Linked DNA regions of Homo sapiens: regions 1 and 3 are each linked to region 2. Evidence: promoter capture Hi-C in human tissues and cell types (Jung and others, 2019). All regions are on one chromosome and are shown on one strand. The core of a region is centred on a gene start or on the middle of the fragment in contact, and the rest is flanking DNA. Distances in the headings are between cores, read along the strand shown. Region 1 has its middle 16 kb from the start of ST6GALNAC2. Region 2 holds the start of UBE2O (ubiquitin conjugating enzyme E2 O). Region 3 overlaps RNF157 (ring finger protein 157).

What was found. Contacts are between HindIII fragments. The study calls those that stand out against the background at their distance.
Region 1: a contact is called between a fragment that was not itself captured here and the fragment with the promoter of UBE2O in region 2, in 3 of the 25 tissues and cell types used here (H1 embryonic stem cells, aorta and bladder).
Region 3: a fragment that was not itself captured here is called in contact with the fragment with the promoter of UBE2O in region 2 in 2 of the 25 tissues and cell types used here (aorta and heart right ventricle).

Annotation. Positions count from the first base shown.
Region 1 is chr17:76,600,833-76,603,532 of GRCh38, reverse strand. No RefSeq gene overlaps it. Among named protein-coding and RNA genes, the nearest start is that of ST6GALNAC2, 16 kb to the right of the region's middle. RefSeq lists enhancers at 681-1,227, 1,228-1,775, 1,102-2,301 and a silencer at 2,152-2,446. The HindIII fragment of the contact is 3,370 bases long and covers 1-2,700 here.
Region 2 is chr17:76,451,790-76,454,489 of GRCh38, reverse strand. It overlaps UBE2O (ubiquitin conjugating enzyme E2 O), which reads left to right and starts at 1,338. Exons shown (of 18, transcript NM_022066.4): 1 at 1,338-1,765. The coding sequence starts at 1,349. It also overlaps a transcript of AANAT not described here. RefSeq lists silencers at 1,164-1,332, 1,127-1,666, 1,787-1,986. The HindIII fragment of the contact is 12,276 bases long and covers 1-2,700 here.
Region 3 is chr17:76,226,114-76,228,813 of GRCh38, reverse strand. The region is part of intron 1 of RNF157 (ring finger protein 157); the gene reads left to right. It also overlaps the pseudogene ATF4P3. Among named protein-coding and RNA genes, the nearest start is that of RNF157, 13 kb to the left of the region's middle. The HindIII fragment of the contact is 9,258 bases long and covers 1-2,700 here.

The sequences.
Region 1 (2,700 bases), core at 186-2,685, 150 kb before region 2:
ACCATCTTAACCAGGCTGGTCTTGAACTCCTGACCTCAAGTGATCTGCCCACCTCAGCCTCCCAAAGTGCTGGGATTACAGGTGTGAGTCACCGCGCCCAGCCCCATCCTTTTTCTTGACTCCTTCCAGCTTAGACCAAAAACCCCAAGTGCAAGTTCAGGCTTCCAAACTCTACGGCCTCTGATATGGTTTGGATGTGTGTCCCCTCCAAACCTCATGTTGAAACATGATTCCTAATGTTAGATGTGGGGCCTGATGGGGGGTGATTCGATCATGGGGTAGATCCTTCATGAATGGCTCAGCAACATCCCCTTGGTGATAAGTGAGTTTTGCTCAGTTAGTTCATGCAAGGTCTGGTTGTTTAAGAGTCTGGGACCTCTCCCTTCTCTCTATTGCTCTCTCTCCAAGTGACATGCCTGCTCCCACTTCACCTTCCGCCATGAATAAGAGCTCCCTGAGGCCTCACCAGAAGCCAAGCAGATGTGGGCACCATGCTTCCTGTACAGCCTGCAGAACAATGAGCCAATTAAACCTCTTTTCTTTATAAATTATCCACTGTCAGGTATTTATAGCAATGTAAAAACAGACTAACAGCCTCCAACTATGTCCTCTTCCCAAGGAGTGCCCTTGCAATGATTCAAAGCCTGGGCCAGGAATTGAGTGTTTTACCGGTGGGTAAACCATGGCTTATCCATTAAACGTTGCAGCATAATTTATCTTTCAACAACCCCAGTCTCTCTTTCTCTTCCGCCTTTCAGAGTCACTGGTGCAAGGGCTCACACAGTTACTCACGGATTTAACATTATTTTTCCTCTTTTCTCACATGCCTGGGACTTAGACAACTAATTCAGCTGTTTTAGAGGATTTAAAAGGTTAAAGTACAGATCTAACACGTCTCGCAATTCTCTGCTTCTGGGTCAGCAGTTTTTTTGGGTTTTTTGTTTTTTTTTTGAGACAAAGTCTTGTTCTCTCGCCAAGGCTGGAATGTAATGGCACGATCTGGGCTCACTGCAACCTCTGCCTCCCAGGTACAAGTGATTCTCCTGCCTCAGCCTCCCGAGTAGCTGGGATTACAGGTGCCTGCCACCACACCTGGCTAATTTTTGTATTTTTAGTAGAGACGGGATTTCGCCATGTTGGCCAGGCTGGTCTCAAACTCTCGACCTCAGGCGGTCCGCCTGCCTTGGCCTCCCAAAATGCTGGGATTACAGGTGTGAGCCACCATGCCCAGCCTAGGATCAGCAGTTTTTGATCTTGTTCTTTTTTGCAGTGAGGAGTAGGCAAAGGGTCCAAAAGTTGCTCCTGGGTCGAGGGTGCATTGGAGAGATCAAGAGAGATTCAGAAGCAGGACAGATATTTGTGTTAGTAATGTTACAGGCACTTCAACCAGAGTGACTCCATCTTGAATAGGGACTGGGTAAAATGAGGTTGAGACCTGCTGTACTGCATTCCTAGGGGGTTAGACATTCTTAGTCATAGGGTGAGATAGGAGCTCGCAAGATACAGGTCACAAAGACCCTGCTGATAAAACAGGATGCAGTAAAGAAGCCAGCCAAAACCAAGATGGCAACAAATGTAACCTCTAATAGTCCTCACTGCCCATTATATGCTAATTATAATGCATTAGCATGCTAAAGTCACTCCCACCGGCACCATGAAAGCTTAGAAATGCCATGGCAACGTTCAGAAGTTACCTTATATGGTCTAAAAGGGGGAGGAAACCTCATTTCCAAAAAATCCCCACCCGTTTCCTGGAAAACATAATAATCCACTCCTCGTTTAGCATATGATCAAGAGATAACCATAAAAATAGCCACCCACTGGGAGGCGGAGGCGGGTGGATCACAAGGTCAGGAGATTGAGACCATCCAGGCTAACACCATGAAACCCCATCTCTACTAAAAATAAAAATAAATAAAAAAAATAGCCACCCAGCAGCTCTTGGGGCTGCTCTGCCTATGGAATAGCTATTCTTTTGTTTCTTTACTTCTCTAACAAACTTGCTTTCACTTTACTCTGGACTCACCCTAAATTCTTTATTGCATGAGATCCCAGAACCCTCTCTTGGGGTCTGGATTGGGACCCCTTTCTGGTGATAGTAATGGAAAGTCTAAAGTGTACTCAGAGGATAGTGTTGCATTCATGCTGGTCTCCATGGCAGTCCTCACATGTCCTGTTGACTGTATGTATTTATTTTTGAGAGAGGGTCTCACCCCATCACCCAGGCTGGAGTGCAGTGGCGCTATTGCAGCTCTCTGCAGCCTTGAACTCCCAGGCTCAAACGATCCTCCCACCTTAGCTTCCTGCATATGTGCCACCACACCCAGTTAACTTTTTTTCTCTCTTTTTGGTAGAGACAGGGTCTCACGATGTCGCCTAGGCTTGTCTCGAACTCTTGGGCTCAAGCGATCGGCCCACCTCGGCCTCCCAAAGTACTGGGATTACAGGCATAAGTCACTATTCCCTGCTTTGACTGGTATTTAAAGGAAAGCTTAAAGTCAAACATTGTGTTCACAGAAGGAGAAAAGTACACTGTACCAAGCTTGAGGATTTATACTTATCTACAAAATTGTTTGCAAATCGGTTTATACAAAAATGTGGCATTTTCTGGATTATCACATACTGGGTGGGCACAAAGAATAGTTCTGTGTTGGCACTGGGGAACAGGGAACTAGAGGCCTGACCCCGACCCCCTTCACA
Region 2 (2,700 bases), core at 89-2,588:
TTTTTGAGACAGAGTCTTGCTCTGTTGCCCAGGGTGGAGTGCAGTGGCGCGATCTGGGCTCACTGCAACCTCAGCCTCCCAGGTTCAAGCGATTTGCCTGCCTCAGCCTCCTGAGTAGCTGGGACTACAGCCATGTGCCACCACGCCCAGCTATTTTTTTTTTTTTTCCGTATTTTTAGTAGAGATGGGGTTTCGCCATGTTGGCCAGGATGGTCTCAATCTCTTGACCTCGTGATCCGCCCACCTCAGCCTCCCAAAGTACTGGGATGACAGGTGTGAGCTGCCGCGCCCGGCCTACTTTTTATATTTTAAAATGACAATATGGAGCAGACCATAACAGTTCTGCCAGTCTGGAATTTAGTCTAGGCAGGGAGTTTGGAAATAGTACAACAATGGTTAAGCTTATCGAAGGAGCTAAATGCCAGGCACTGTTCTACTTCACTTAATCCTCCAATTGCCCAATGAGATGAGTATTGCTATTATCATCCCTATTTCACAGATGAGCAAATTAAGATGAAAATAAGTTAATCAGTGTGCCTATTTTTATAGATTAGTAAGTGGCAGTGCCAAAAATTGGAATCCGTGGTCCCCACTCTTAGCTACCTTACTATACTACCTCTTGCCATTCATTCTTGGCTTCAGGGAGCTTTGAATTTATCTGCATGGATTTGTAGCCAAACCACTGGGACCACTGATCCTTTTGTTACCTTTCTCTGGGCCTCCTTCACCAGCTTCTGGGTCAACTTCTGAGGGGTCATGACGTTCGAACTGCTTGGAATTCCTGAATACAGTGCATTATACATATGCTCTACACGTATCTATTATAGCCTTACAAGTTGGAGTTGTTTGTTATCTATTTAATGTGTATTTGTTTTGTCTCCCCAACTAGACTGGAAACACCTAGAGGACAGGGACAGTATCTTTCTCTTTCTGCAATGCTCCCAGTGCCTGGGGGCTAGGCTAGGACGCCAAGGGAGCTCATTAAAAGTTGTTGACAGTCTCTCCACCATCCTGTGCCCCACCCCGACCACTCCCCTCTTCCTCGGTGGCCACTCCACTTCCTCCTCCCGGGTCCCCGCCCCTTCTCGCTCCCTTTAGTTGAATCCTCACTGGTCTCGCCCCTTCTTAGTGGATTCCATCCTGCCCCCGCCCCCCGCGGCATCTTCAGCGTCCCCTAGCGACGAGGCGGTGGCTCCTAGCAACTGCATCCCGGCTCCCTGACGACGGCGCCACGCAGGGACACGTCAGCGCGCTATGGCCCCGCCCCCGGCGCCCGCTGGTCCCGCCTCCCCGCGCCTCGTTCGCCGCCGCTGTCGCCGCCGCCGCCCGAGACTCGCGCAGAGCAGTTATGGCGGATCCCGCAGCCCCCACGCCCGCAGCTCCCGCTCCAGCCCAGGCCCCGGCTCCAGCCCCGGAGGCAGTCCCGGCCCCAGCCGCAGCCCCCGTCCCGGCGCCGGCGCCCGCCTCGGACTCGGCCTCCGGGCCGTCCTCGGACTCCGGCCCAGAAGCCGGCTCGCAGCGCCTGCTGTTTTCTCACGACCTGGTGTCGGGCCGTTACCGTGGCTCCGTGCACTTCGGGCTGGTGCGCCTCATCCACGGCGAGGACTCGGACTCGGAGGGCGAGGAGGAGGGCCGCGGGAGCTCGGGGTGCTCCGAGGCCGGGGGCGCGGGCCACGAGGAGGGCCGGGCCAGCCCCCTGCGCCGCGGCTACGTGCGCGTCCAGTGGTACCCGGAGGGCGTCAAGCAGCATGTGAAGGAGACCAAGGTGCGGCGGGCGGGGGCTGGGCGGCGCGGGCGGCAGGGGGTCGGCGGCCGGGCCGAGGCCAGGGAAGGACGGCGTGCAGGGCCCTGCCCGGAGCGGTGCCACTGCAGTGGCCGACGCGGGAGGACAGCCCCAGTGGAGGGTACACTCCATGCAAAGTCATTGCAGCAGCTCTGGGCGCACACGCCAGCCAGGCACTGCTGGCCCGGGACCGGGCGGGCCCTGGGCTTCCCGACTTGAGGGGACTTCTAAGACATGTTATGCTGTGGTGTCGGCCTCGAGATTTAGAGACGTGGACCGACTCCCGTGGGGACTCAGGTTCTGGGGCGCGTTCGGCGTTACACCAGTGCGGCGTTTTGCTGACCCCCAAGGAGCTCGGTACTGCATTGTGCATCCAGAAATGAAGGCCGTGCCGGGTCCGTGCAGGGAGGGGTTGTGGGCATTCCAAAACAAAGATAGAGGTGAAAATCCCAGCCGAACCCAAGAAGTTCACTAGCTTACAGGCTGCATTATGGTGAAGCCACCCAGCCTCTTTTTGTTTTACCCTGCTGCCTCCTTTTAATTGCTGCAGGGAACTTTGTGAGTAAAATCATTAGCAATCAGAGCCCCGGTATGAATAGTACTTGGGGGGGAGGATTCTGACAGCTGCGACCGGGATTGATGACTCCTAAGTGCATATGGACTCCTTGAAAAAAATAATCCAGAACCCTGGGTAGAGGGGAGTCACCAATTTGGAAACCCGAAGGTTTTTTCTTGACCTGAAGCTGTTAAGCAGACATCTGACTCCCGTATGGTTTTTGGGGTGATGCTAGTGAGTATAGCAGTTTTACAAAACAAAGAGGCTTGTCATCATAAACCCGAAACCTTGAACCCGGGTTGGTTTGGTGGCTTGTTTTCCAGAATGTGAATTCCTATCAGTAATTGACACACACACACAC
Region 3 (2,700 bases), core at 20-2,519, 230 kb after region 2:
GAGTAGCTGGGATTACAGGCGCCCACCACCACGCCCGGCTAAGTTTGTATTTTAGTAGAGAGGGGGTTTCACCATGTTGGCCAGGCTGGTCTCGAACTCCTGACCTCAGGTGATTCATCTGCCTCAGCCTCCCAAAGTGCTGGGATTACAGGTGTGAGCCACTGTGCCCAGCCCAAGTGACTGGTTAGTAAGACATGGCAGATGGAACTTTTTTGGTATTTGTTATTTGAGTTGGGGAGACCAGTATATGCTTGTAGGATGAGGTAAGTAAGAAGCCAGTGGAGAGAGAGGAACGCAAGTGTTAAACAAGAAGGATGGTTACAGATGTGGTCTCAGGTGAGGTAGAGGCAGTTGGGAATGAGAACTCAGGTGAAGAAGTTAACCTTGGAAAGGAGGAATGCCTCCTTGAGACTGGAAGAAAGTATGGGTAGAAATATGGGGAAGTTGTTAGGTGTTGAAACTATTGTAATGCATAAGGGTTCTGAGAGCACCACAAGGAAGAAGGGTACAGGGTTGGGGTTGGGACTTGAGAATGTGGGAAGGGTTTTAGACGCATTGATGTGTGCCTTTCTCTAAATGCTGTGAAGCTACCGTTGTTCAGTCTGTGTTGTACTGGTCCAGAATAGAAGAGTCCAGATCTAAGTATATTTAGCATAAGAATAGAATTTAAATTAGTGGGGGGAAATGGAATATTCCATAAATGGTTTTTTTTATTTCTTTTTAGAAAAAAACCCCACAAAGTCTACATCTATGAATTCCATTTGTAAAAAACAGGAAGCAACATAAACTGTAAAGAGAATGTTTATCAGTAGGGAAACAGTTAATTAAATCTGGACATTCAATGGGAATACATTATAATGGTTAAGAGCACAGGTTCTGGAATAAATATAGCTAGATTTGGGGACCTGACACTACCTCTTTTTTTAAATTTTTTTTGAGATGGAGTTTCGCTCTTGTTGCCCAGGCTGGAGTGCAATGGGGCGATCTTGGCTCACCGCAACCTCTGCCTCCCGGGTTCAAGCGATTCTCCTGCCTGAGCCTCCTGAGTAGCTGGGACTACAGGCCTGCATCACCACGCCCGGCTAATTTTGTATTTTTGGTAGAGACAGGGTTTCTCCATGTTGGTCAGGCTGGTCTCCAACTCTCGACCTCAGGTGATCCGCCCACCTCGGCCTCCCAAACTGCTGGGATTACAGGCGTGAGCCACCATGCCGGGCCACTACCTCTTACTATCTGTGTGACCTTGGACAGATTATTTAACCTCTGTGCATTAGTTTCCTCTTCTATAAAATGAAAAGAAAATAGCAACATCTTCAAAGGGTTGTGAAGAATAACCCGTGTAGTACTTGCTAGTACAGTGCTGTTATAGAGTCAGTCCTCTGAAGAGATTATAGGCCAGGCGCAGTGACTCACGCCTGTAATCCCAGCAGTTTGGGAAGCTGAGGTGGGCGGATCACCTGAGGTCAGGAGTTCAAGACCAGCCTGGCCAACATGGTAAAACCCTGTCTCTACTAAAAATACAAAAATTAGCTGAGTGTGGTGGCAGGTGCCTGTAGTCCCAGATACTTGGGAGGCTGAGGCAGGAGAATCTCTTGAACCCAGGAAGCAGAGGTTGCAGTGAGCCAAGATCGTGTCATTCATTGCACTCCAGCCTAGGCGACAAGAGTGAGACTCCCGTCTCAAAAAAAAAAAAAAACAAAAAAAGAGGTTATTAATATTATTTGGCATTTCTACTTTGCCTGCCCACAGATGTAGTTTTTTCCGCACGTGCACGCCTTCCCTCCTCCCCGCCCTCAGGGTCCACGGCCACCATGGCATATTAGGGGCAGCAGTGCCTGCGGCAGCATTGGCCTTTGCAGCGGCGGCAGCAGCACCAGGCTCTGCAGCGGCACCCCCCAGCGGCTTAAGCCATGGCGCTTCCCACGGCATTCAGCAGCAGCATTGCTGTAACCGACAAAGACACCTTCGAATTAAGCACATTACTCGATTCCAGCAAAGCACCGCAACATGACCGAAATGAGCTTCCTGAGCAACGAGGTGTTGGTGGGGGACTTGATGTCCCCCTTCGACCAGTCGGGTTTGGGGGCTGAAGAAAGCATAGGTCTCTTAGATGACTACGTGGAGGTGGCCAAGCACTTCAAACCTCATGGGTTCTCCAGCGACAAGGCTAAGGCGGGCTCCTCCGAATGGCTGACTGTGGATGGGTTGGTCAGTCCCTCCAACAACAGCAAGGAGGATGCCTTCTCTGGGACACATTGGATGTTGGAGAAAATGGATTTGAAGGAGTTCGACTTTGGTGCCCTGTTGGGTATAGATGACCTGGAAACCATGCCAGATGACCTTTTGACCACGTTGGATGACACTTGTAATCTCTTTGCCCCCCTAGTCCAGGAGACTAATAAGGTGCCCCCCCAGATGGTGAACCCAATTGGCCATCTCCCAGAAAGTTTAACAAAACCCGACCAGGTTGCCCCCTTCACCTTCTTGCAACTTCTTCCCCTTTCCCCAGGGGTCCAGTCCTCCACTCCAGATCATTCCTTTAGTTTAGAGCTGGGCAGTGAAGTGGATATCACTGAAGAAGATAGGAAGCCGGACTCCACTGCTTACGTTGCCATGATCCCTCAGTGCATAAAGGAGGAAGACACCCCTTCAGATAATGATAGTGGCATCTGTATGAGCCCAGAGTCCTATCTGGGGTCT